Linked DNA regions of Homo sapiens: regions 1, 3 and 4 are each linked to region 2. The links are contacts of gene promoters, found by promoter capture Hi-C in human tissues and cell types (Jung and others, 2019). All regions are on one chromosome and are shown on one strand. The core of a region is centred on a gene start or on the middle of the fragment in contact, and the rest is flanking DNA. Distances in the headings are between cores, read along the strand shown.

What was found. Contacts are between HindIII fragments. The study calls those that stand out against the background at their distance.
Region 1: a contact is called between a fragment that was not itself captured here and the fragment with the promoter of BOD1L2 in region 2, in 7 of the 25 tissues and cell types used here (aorta, bladder, heart right ventricle and 4 more).
Region 3: a fragment that was not itself captured here is called in contact with the fragment with the promoter of BOD1L2 in region 2 in 8 of the 25 tissues and cell types used here (aorta, hippocampus, mesendoderm cells and 5 more).
Region 4: a contact is called between a fragment that was not itself captured here and the fragment with the promoter of BOD1L2 in region 2, in 1 of the 25 tissues and cell types used here (H1 embryonic stem cells).

Annotation. Positions count from the first base shown.
Region 1 is chr18:57,203,937-57,206,636 of GRCh38, reverse strand. No RefSeq gene overlaps it. Among named protein-coding and RNA genes, the nearest start is that of LINC02565, 34 kb to the right of the region's middle. The HindIII fragment of the contact is 4,703 bases long and covers 1-2,700 here.
Region 2 is chr18:57,145,781-57,148,480 of GRCh38, reverse strand. It overlaps BOD1L2 (biorientation of chromosomes in cell division 1 like 2), which reads right to left and starts at 1,394. Exons shown (of 1, transcript NM_001257964.2): 1 at 1-1,394. The coding sequence starts at 1,168. The coding sequence ends at 650. RefSeq lists an enhancer at 630-1,225. The HindIII fragment of the contact is 20,182 bases long and covers 1-2,700 here.
Region 3 is chr18:57,182,265-57,185,054 of GRCh38, reverse strand. No RefSeq gene overlaps it. Among named protein-coding and RNA genes, the nearest start is that of LINC02565, 12 kb to the right of the region's middle. The HindIII fragment of the contact is 4,241 bases long and covers 1-2,790 here.
Region 4 is chr18:57,094,646-57,097,525 of GRCh38, reverse strand. No RefSeq gene overlaps it. Among named protein-coding and RNA genes, the nearest start is that of LINC-ROR, 24 kb to the right of the region's middle. The HindIII fragment of the contact is 4,490 bases long and covers 1-2,880 here.

The DNA.
Region 1 (2,700 bases), core at 54-2,553, 58 kb before region 2:
TCCATGTTATCTCTAAGAAGCCCTAGGTCTTGGAACATGCTTAGAAAACCTCTCAGCATTCTGAGCTTCAGGGGAAGTTTTGTCCATACAAACTGTCAGGACAGGGATAAGACTACTGTGGGACGGGGGGAAGGGCCACAGCCAGTGGACACTTAAAATTGGCCTCTGGTGCCCACATGTAAGGCTGACATGGCCTCCATCCCTTTGGGGAGTACAGAGGAAATACTAGAATTTTCAGGCAGAAACCTGACATCCCTCTAGGGGAGCATCTGGATCCCTGGGACTGTCACCTTCTAGGGGAGCATCTGGATCCCTGGGAGTGTCACCTTCTAGGGGAGCATCTGGGCCCCTGGGAGTGTCACCAGCACTGCCTTCCTGGTGGTCACCCTCACAGACCAGAGACACAGCTCATAATCACCCTCAGCTCTTTGCCTTCAGTTGTAGACAAATCACAGCCTGGCTGAGGAAGAAAGAGCTGCCCGATCAGGGCACTTCAGTTTCTGGAGTCTGGTGAGGTATCCGACCAATATTCACCCAGTTAAATTTCCCTGGGGCTGAGGAGGTTGGATGTACCCTGTTATCTTCCCTTACTGTTTTAGAATCCAGTGTGGGAAGGAATCCATTACCAGGGAGGTCTGAATGTTCACTCTTCACTGAGCTTCAATTTATATTTTTTCTTTTGAAAAAGGAAAGGGCTTTCTTCAGTTGTTGTAGGCATGTTTCTATGCTAGAGCTTTAAATTGCGCTTCCTTAGTTCTGTTTTCAGGAACACGCAGTTCTCCCCTGCCAGCCTTTTCCAAAGCACACTGAATGGAGCATTTTAGAAATTTCACTGCAGAATGTAATTATTGTTCAGACCCATTCCAGATACGTCTGGCACTCATTTTCTCTCCTCATTCTCCTTCATTAAAACATATAATCAGATGAAGGGGTTGCCATGAATGGGAAGAAGAACTTCCTGGTACTCAAAGGCAGCGTCTCTTCATTAAAGAATGTGTCAGTCGCCCACTAGGAGAGCTCAGGGAGGCATTAGCTGTGGCTCTAGGACTGTGAAATCTGACTGCAGAGGACCTTAAAGCTTGACTCATGTATGGGTGGTAAAGATGGCATCAAGTCATCAGGCTCATCCTGCTCTTGACTGCTGGTGAAACTGGCTAGTGTATTTGGACCTGAAAGAATCTGAGACACCTGAACTCATCCTGGATCCAAGCAGCATAATACAGAGCTCCCACCGAAATGCTCTAAGGGCCCTTCTGTGTAGGCATAACCTAAAATCAAACATCAAAACAAAACCTGTACAGCCAGAATTTAAAAGACTGACAATACCAAGAGTTGACAACAATATAGATCAAATGGAATACTCACATGTTAATGGTGGGAATGAAAAATGGCACAGCCATTTTGGAAAGCAGTTTGGAATTTCTTACAAAGTTATTTATATACTTACCATGAAACCACACAAACTAATTCTTAGGTATTTGCCCAAAATAAATAAGAATAAATATTCACACATTAACTTGTACATGAACATTCAGAGTAGATTTATTCTTTTTTTTTTTTTTTTTTTTTTTTTAGACAGAGCCTTGCTCTGTTGCCAGGCTGGAGTGCAGTGGCGTGATCTCGGCTCACTGAAACCTCCAATTCCCTGGTTCAAGCGATTCTCCTGAGTCAGCCTCCTGAGTTGCTGAGATTACAGGCATGCACCACCACACCCAGCTAATTTTTGTATTTTTAGTAAAGATGGGGTTTCACCATGTTGGCCAGGATGGTCTTGATCTCCTGACCTGGTGATCTGCCTGCCTCGCCTCCCAAAGTGCTGGGATTACAGGCGTGAGCCACCATGCCCGGCTGATTTATTCTTAATAGTCCAAAACTGAGAGCAACCCAAATGTCCATGAACAGATGAATATGTCAACAAACTATGGTATATCCATTCAGTGGGATACTCTTCGGCATTATATAGGAATGAACTAACTGATACATACTGATGGATAGATTTCAAAACATGTTGAATAAAAAAAGCCAGACATCAAAGAGTGCAGATTACATATGCTTAACTCTAGAAAACAGTAATCTAATCTATAATGACAGAAAGTAGATCTGTGATTAGCTAGGGCTGGAGTGGAGGAAAGTGACAATTGACTGGGAAAGGACTTAGAGGGACTTTGGGGGGTAATGGAAATGTCCTCTATCTTGACTATAGTGGTGATGGCATGGGTATATAAATTTGTCACAACTCATCAAAATTTACACTTAAATGCATTTTACTGTATATAAATTATACCTTAATAAAGTTTATTTTAAAAGTGGGGTCTATGTCTCATGGTTCTGGGACCTGAATTAGAGAATTTATTCAGCAAATTGATGGAAAGAGAAACTTAAAGTTCTCTTAGCTTCTGTTTCTTATTTAACAGAGACAAAGGACCAGAGGGGTTGAGACTTGCCCATCCTTATATGGTTTCCTAACTTACAGTACTATCTTCTTTGCGGTAGACCTCTGGATGCTCACTCTGGAAGTAGAAATTAGATGTCCTAAAATGCCAGCATGTTGCAGAAGGGAAGAACTTGACACCACGAAGCTTAGCATTGGGTCCTGAGTTGGGGCCTCTCTGCCTATCTGAGGGAGTCATCTCTAGGCCTTCTCTCCTCCCCCTTATCTCTCTTTCCACTGCCCAAATCTTCCATATCCTCAAGGCCCAG
Region 2 (2,700 bases), core at 145-2,644:
GAGAGTCTGCAAATGAGTTTCCTTATACCTAATGTCTGAACTTCTCACTCATTCTAGGGTTTCATGCTTTGTTATCTCTTACAAAGGAAAGGAAACTGGCTAGAAGATTCATGTACAAGAAGGTCACAACTTCAAAGCTATCTGACACTAATGTTGTGTACAATCTAGTTTGCAACTCTGAGAGACAATATCAAATAAGTACTGTCAAATATTCCTCCCAGTTAACCTTTACTGTCATTGTTCTTTGAAATTGTCTTTGGGATTGGTTATGTTCTCTCGCTGTAGCTTTCGTTTATCTCAGAGCACAAACCCTAAAATCCATGTGCAGTCTCCATGTTCAAGTATAGATGTCTGTTTCAGGACAATCCTGGGTCGCGGTAGTGTTTCCCTCTCTGTAGTGTGTGTTTGGTGTCATGCCCTTGGAAAGGCTGGCCAAATGGCAGCGCAATGCAGGAGGGTGCCACGGTCAACTTTCTCTCTGGCGAACTTGCTTCCCTTTCAATCTGGTCACTGCTCATGGTCGAGGTGGAAATCTTGAGCTCAGTGATGAACTTGGCTTATCTTCAATCTGAAACTGCACTCTTATGTAACCGAATCCATTTCTTCACCAAAAATTAAATAGCGCTTTCAAAAGCTGTCAGGCATATTCTTAGGAAGTGTCCTGAGACGGAGCTGGAGGGTCCTGGCCTTCTGGCTCTGGAGGGAGTGCTGGCACAGCTGCTTCTTTCTGGGCCACCAGGAATTCATGAATTATTTGTTCTATTTGTGGCCTGAAGATGTGGTTTAGTTTTGGATCCACCACCTGAGAACTAATCCTGTCCACTCCAGCTTCTGACCTCCCTGACTGAACCACACTCTGCCTCAGACCATCGTGCAGTTGGTTGTCGTTTGCTGGAGGATTCCATTCCTGCTTGTCCAGATGTGTCGACACAAAATTATCCGCTTTCTGGCTCAGGTTTTGGTAAGCTGGCTTGGTGTCCACGTCAGCCTTGCAGTCCCGGCGGAAGCTGTCAAAAAGGCCCCTGCTCTTGAGCTGCCCCACGATGATAGCGATGAGCTGAGGGTCGCCAGGGGGCAACGAGGCCGGGTTGATGGGGCCGCCGCCCCCGCTGGCCCGGGTCGAGGCCGGGCCCGCACCGCCGCTGCCGCCGCCGCCACCGTCCGCCATGGCTGCGCACCGGGCCCACAAGGAAACCGATTATAGCTTCTTCTCCAGGACAGAAAGCCTAGAATGTGTAGAGGTGGCTAAGGGGGCGGTGAAGGAGGAGGGCCCCAAGGAGGCAGCGGCGGAGGTGACGGTGGTGGTGATGGCGGCGGGGCCGGTGGTTGGGGCGGCGGTGGGGGAGGCCAGCTCCAGACCGCGGAGGTTGTGGAAGACGCGGCAGCAACCGCCTGCTGGATTCCAAGCGCGCTCCAGATGGCGTCACCGTTGACCTTTGCATTGTGAGGCGGGAACCGTAATCTGCATTTCTTAAAAGATCTCTAAGAGGGAGGTGGGAAACAAATGCCAGTGGGCAAGGGCGAAACAGGGAGACAATTTCAGCAACCATTTCAGTGCCCTAAGAAGGAGATGGCGAGGAGTGAATGATCTTCGTGGCCTGGCAGGTGAAGAAGGTAACAGGGATACAAGAGATATTTAGGAGATAGACTCATCCCAGGGATTGGAGAACAACGGGGTGAGGGACGAGGGAAAGGAGAGGGTCAAGGATGACCCCCAGGCTTCTCACTTGGGCAGGTGCATGGAGGTGCCATTTACTAAATGGAGAACAGGTATAGAGGTGAGGATGGGAGACAGAGACATGATCGTGCATTCCATTTTTATTTACTAGTTTAAGATGGGTATGGGTTATTCAGATGCAGACATCTGCCTATGAAGTCCAAAGATACAAGGACTAGGGGCTGGGGAGAGACATCTAACTCACTGAAGGTAGAGACTATAGGTGGCAATTACAATGGAGAACTTAGAAGAGATAGAGGAACACCTGGAGAGCCCATGAGGGGGACTGAGAACAACACTAAAAAGATGGAGGGAAAACTACAAAAGCCTTGGATCATAGACCGCAAAAGGTACATTTCATGAAGGCCATGGGTGAAATGCCACACTATGTTCCACAAGGTGTCCATTGGCTTTGGTAGCCATTGATGAGCCTAGGGCAGATGTGTCAGTCAGAAGGAGGTCATTTCAACAAGAGAACTGTATTGCAACCAAGAGCCACAAAAGGCAACCACATCCAGCGCCATCCAATAGAGAAGTGCAGGTGCACAGAAAGAACCTTCTATCAATATTTCAAAAGAAAAGCAGATCCCTGATTTCACCCCAACACTCACTTCCCTGAATTAAAATGCCCCTGAGATGTAGACACCACATTGTTCTATAAGCCGTAACATAGCTTAAAGGTAGTATATTTCACAAAGAAAGTTTACACAACAGACTCTGTCAATAACCTCACCCCATAGCTTCTGACATACAAGTACAGATGCCTCAGATGGACGTATTCTGAATCTCATCCCACAGGAGACAGTGAACCTACCAAGACTTCACCACAGCAACCCCCTACCTATGCTCCTCACCATCCCCATGATCAGCTCGACAATTCAGTTCTGTATTTTTTTAAATTAATCAATATTTATTGAGGGACTAGTCGATGTGGCCCTGTGCTAAGCTTTATGGAGCTCTCCACGTGCCTGGCCCAGTCTAAC
Region 3 (2,790 bases), core at 52-2,551, 37 kb before region 2:
ATACTAGATGAGCCTTACAAAAAATGCTGACAGGAGTCACACATATGAAAGCAAAGATGATGAGTACCATCATGAAAACACACAGAAGTATAAAACTCACTGGTAGAGCAGATATACAAATGGAAAAGGAAAAAGGAATCAAACCTTATCACTATAGGAAACCACCAACTTGGCCAGGCACAGTGGCTCATGCCTTTACTTCCTAGAACTTTGGGAGGCCAAGATAGGAGGACTGCTTGAGTCCAGGAGTTCAAGATCAGCCTGGGCAACATAGTAAGACCCCGGCTCAACAAAAAATACAGAAATTAGCTAGGTATGATAGCACATGCCTATAGTTCCAGCTTCTCAGGAGGCTGAGGTGGGAGGATCACTTGAGCACAGGAGTTTGAGGTTGCAGTGAGCTATGATCATGCCATTGCACTCGAGTCTGGGTGACAGAGAGAGGCCCTGTCTCAAAAAAAAAAAAAAAAAAAAAAAAAAGTAGAAGAAAAGAAAACCACCAATGGGAGAGATAAATAATAAAAGGAATAAAAGAACAAACAATATATAAAACAACAAGAAAACAATTATTAAAATGACAAAAGTAAGTCCTCATCAATTAATAGCTTGAATGTAAATGTTTACATTTCACAGTTAAAAGATAAAGACTGACTGAATGAATTAAAAACCCCAACTATATACTGCTTAGAAGAAATTCACTTTACCTATGACTGAAAGTGAAGGAATGAAAAAAGATATTCCATGCAACAAAAGCCAAGAATGAGCAGAAGTAGCTATGCTTGTATCAGATAAAATACACTTTAAGTCAAAAACTGTAAAAAGAGACAAAGAAGGTCATTATATAACAATAAAGAGATATATTCTGTAGGAGAACATAACAATTGTAAATGTATATGTACCCCACACTGGTTCACTCAGATATATAAAGTAAACATTATTAGATCTAAAAAGAGAGAGATATTCCAGTACAATAATAGTTGAGAACTTCAACACTTCTCTTTCAACAATAGACAGATCACCTAGACAGAAACCAAAGAAACTGTAGTCTTAAACTGCACTATAGACTAAATTGACCTAACAGGCATTTACAGAGCATTTCATCTAACAGCTACAGAATATACATTCTTCTCATTAGCAAATGGAATATCTTCCAGAATAGACATATGTTAGGCCATAAAACAAGTCTTAGCAAATTTTTTAAAATTGAAATTATATCACATAGCTTTTTAGACAACAATGGAATAAAACTAGAAATCAGTAACAAGAGGAACTTTGGTAACTGTGCAAATACATGTAAATTTATAGTAGAGATGGGGTTTTGCCATGTTGGCCAGGGTGGTCTCGAACTCTTGACCTCGGGTGAAAAGCCCACCTCAGCCTCCCCAAGTGCTGGGATTACAGGCATGAGTCACCGCGCCTAGCCCTAAAATATCTTGAAACAAATGAAAAGAGAAACACAACCACAACCTATAGGTCAAAGCAGCACTAAGAGGGAAGTTTATGGCAATAAACACCTCCATTAAATCTTTCTAAGATTTCAATAAACAACCTAACAATGCACCTCAAGGAACTAGAAAAGCAAAAACAAACCAAACCCAAAATTAGTAGAAGGAAAGAAATAATAAAGATAAAATCAGAAATAAACACAACAGGGACTAAAAAATATATAAAAGTTTAACAAAAAATAGTTTTTTGAAAAGATAAAATAATTGACAAACTATTAGCTAGACTAAGAAAAAAGAAGTTCCAAATAAATAAAATTAGAAATGAAAAAAGTAATGATCCTAGTGATACTACAGAAATGCAAAGAATCATTAGAAACTATTATATGCCAAAAAATTAAAAAACCTTGTGAAAATGGATAAATTCCTGGATACATACAACCTACAAAAATTGAACAAAGAAGAAATAGAGAACCTGAACAGACCAATAATGAGCAACAAGATTGAATCAGTAATGGAAACTCTCCCAGCAACAACAAAAAGCCCAAGACTGGATGGTTTCATTACAGAATTCTACGAAACTTTTAAAAAAGAACAAACATCAGCTCTTCTCAAAATATTCCAGGGAAAAAAAATTGAAGGGGAAGGAATTCTTCCAAACTCATTCTTTGAGGCCAGCATTACCCTGATACCAAAACCAGAGAAGAACACAACAACAACAAAAGAAAACTACAGGCCAATATCCCTGATAAAGACAGGTGCAAAAATCCTCAGCAAAATACTAGCAAACAAAATCCAATAGTACATCAAAAAGATTATACAATATGATGAAGCAGGATTTAACCCAGGAATTCAAGGATGGTTCAACATATGCAAATCAATAAACCTTATACATCACATCAACACACTGAAGGACAAAAACCATGTGACTATGTCAATAGATGCATGAAAAACATTTGATGAAATTCAACATCCCTTTATTATAAAAACTCTCAACAAGTTAGGTATAGAAGAAATATACCTCAACACAATAAAAGCCATATATGACAAACTCATGGCTGACATCTTAATGGCAATAACTTGAAAGCTTTTTCTCTAAGAACTGGAACAAGATAAGGATGCACACTTTTATCATATTGTTCAACATAGTACTGGAAGTCCTAGCTAGAGCAATTGGGTAAGAAAAAGAAATAAAAGGCATCCAAGTTGGAAAGGAGAAAGTCAAATTGTCCCTGTTTGCAGAAGACATGATCTTATATAGAGAAAAGCCTAAAGACTCCACCAAGAACTGTTAGAACTGATAAACAAATTTAGTAAAGTTTCAGGATACAAAATCAATATACACAAA
Region 4 (2,880 bases), core at 232-2,731, 51 kb after region 2:
CCTCCTTTTGAGGGAAAAAAGGGATTTTTATCTCTATACTTTAGTGCCAAGCACAGAGCCTAGGATATGGAGTAGAGGCCCCATAAATGTCTCTAAGTTTTGTTCAAACTCTACTTTGAGGTTGAAATTATAGGAGATAAAGGTATACAATGGATCTCCAACAACAGAATCAAGTGAGACTTCAAATACATCTTCACATAAGCCTACCTCACAATCAAGGAAGCATGATCGCAAATACTTATTGAGCACTTGTTTCATGCCATACTATCTTATCCCCAAGATAGCTCCATGAGGGGCATACCATTCTTACGTCTGTTTTCCAGACCAGGAAGCTGAAACTTTAAAAGAAATGTGCATCATGTCACACAGCTAGAAAGTGGCTAGGCTGGAATCCAAATGACTGCACTAGGCCACTTCCCAAAGAAGTCATTTTGGTGACCATCACGGTCATCAAAACATGACTTTCCCACAGACTTTGCACCCAGTGGGTCTCAGTCATGGGCGGTAGAAAGAGTTGCCCTGCATTGTAAGATATAGATAGAGGGCTTATGGGAAGATATAGAACTCATGGGAAGGTCCTTGACAAAATATTTTCTAACTGGTGTCAAAAATGTTGCTATTAATAATTTAATCCCTTCAAAGAAATAGCACATCAAGTCCCTAAGACTTCATGGTATGAAGAAATTTACCAGACATATTCCCATTCTAACAGTAAGGTTGTCACAAGGGTTTATGGGAGAGAGAGAGAGGGTAGAAAATGTAAAGATAGGGAAGTTGGCACTGAAAGCACGGAAGGTAGGGAGGTGGGGGGAGACAGATTCAGAAAATAAAGGTGAAGAATGAAGACCAGCTTCTCTGATTTTACAATTTGGCTTCTGGACCACGCGGATCTGGTCAGTTCCTACAGGAAATTGTTCTGGCCAGTGGGCATATCAGGTAAAAAGCTAGAAGCTCCTCAAAGTGTATTTTAAGTGTTTTGTTGTTGTTGTTGATGTTGTTCTTCTTCTTCTTCTTCTTGAGATAGGGCCTCGCTACGTTGCCCAGGCTGATCTTGAACTCCTGGGCTCAAGCTATCCTCCTGCCTTGGCCTCTCGAAGTGCTAAGATTACAGGCATAAGGCATTGCACCCAGCCTATTTAATAAAACATAATAAAAATGTAATGTTTTTATTACGTTCCAGCCTGTCTATATTGTGGGCTTTCTCCATCAGGAGCTGGGGTCTTCCTGTAAAACAACTCAGGTCCCAAACCTACCCAGGAAGACTCAGCCAAAATGTTGCAGTGTGTGTCCATCCAGGACTCACGCTATCTTGCAAAATCATTTTCCTTTGACTCTACCAGCCTGTGTGTCTGGTATTGTTCCTTCTCTTATCACTGCTCCCAAGCTGTCTTCCCCTGCATGAATCACTCTCTCTTGTTTCCCACTGCCTGACTTCTTAGCCTCAATATTTCTGCCTTCTCCCTTTGCTCTCTGCAGGAAACCGAAGTCTCAGATTTCACTTCTAACTGAAGCCTGACTTCTTTTCAGCGCGTATCAGAGCATCCAAGAACCCTTCAGACTCTAGTTTCCTCTGGCAGATGTGCTTGTCAGCAGCCACCCTGAAGGGCATCCCAGCCTGGGCAGTGCTCAGAAACTACTCAGACAAGGCAAACTGAGTGTGGGGGGTAGGGAGCACGAGACCCCACATCACAGGCTGTATTGCACCAAGCAGCAGGTTTGCCTGGGTGTAGTGCAAAGTTTCGTATTCATCTGAAAGCTTCGCTTTTGTCTAAGTGGCAACTACCTCACAGCATTGCTGCTTTGATTTAACATTACTATTCCTTCTCCTTCTCCTTCTCCTTCTCCTTCTTCTTCTCCTTCGCCTTCTCCTTCGCCTTCTCCTTCTCCTTCTTCTTCATGGAGTCTTGCTTTGTTGCCAGACTAGAGTGCAGTGGAGAGATCTCAGCTCACTGCAACCTCCACCTCCCGGATTCAAGTGATTCTCCTGCCTCAGCCTCCCAAGTAGCTGGGATTACAGATGCCCACCACTATGCCTGGCTAATTTTTGTATTTTTAGTAGAGATGGGGTTTCACCATGTTGGCCAGGCTGGTCTCAAAGTACTGAGCTCAGGCGATCTACCCATCTGGGCCTCTCAAAGTGCTGGGATTACAGGTGTAAGCTCATTGGTTTTCCCCAGGAAATGTGCAAGTCAGAAAATATCAAAATGTGTTCTTGTTAAGCCAGATTTCTGGAGGCTCTGGGGCCCTTCTGAAGCACAGATGTCCCCACCGAAAGGGGCCTAGAGTTCCAGTCCCCTCACTTCACAAAAAGGCTGGCTGCCAGGGCCACTCACCTAATTAGTGGTAGCATTTGGTTTAGAGCCCCAGGCTCTGAATCCCAGGCCAGTATCTTTTGACACACTTCCAATTTTCTTCTGAAAATTAGGAGTATAAAAAGCCCATAGTGAACACCTTCCAGAGTTGGAAGTCATTGAACAGAGGTCCGTAAAGAAAAGAACTTGAGCCCTTTGAGCAGGGCCTTCTCCTCTGGATCCCAGGACCCCTGGTGGGACTCATGAGAACCCCTCAAGGAGGCTGCATGTGGTTCAGCCTTACTAACCAGAAGTCTATGCCAGGGAGGATGGAAGATGAGGTGAAGAGGGAGGTACTGGCCAGAGCTCAAAATCTTGATCTGAGAGCTGGGGCAAGCTAGAGAATTGTTCCAAAGAGCAGGGTATAAGGCTCCATTGACACGGCGGGCCGCACAGGAGTGGGGAGGGTGGCTGGAGCCCAAGCAGAAGGAGATGCGTAAAGGTGAGGGATGCACTGGGTCACGGCACTGGACAGAGCGGGGGACCCACGGCCGGAACACAGAGGGTATGAGATCTGTAGGCTCTGGGG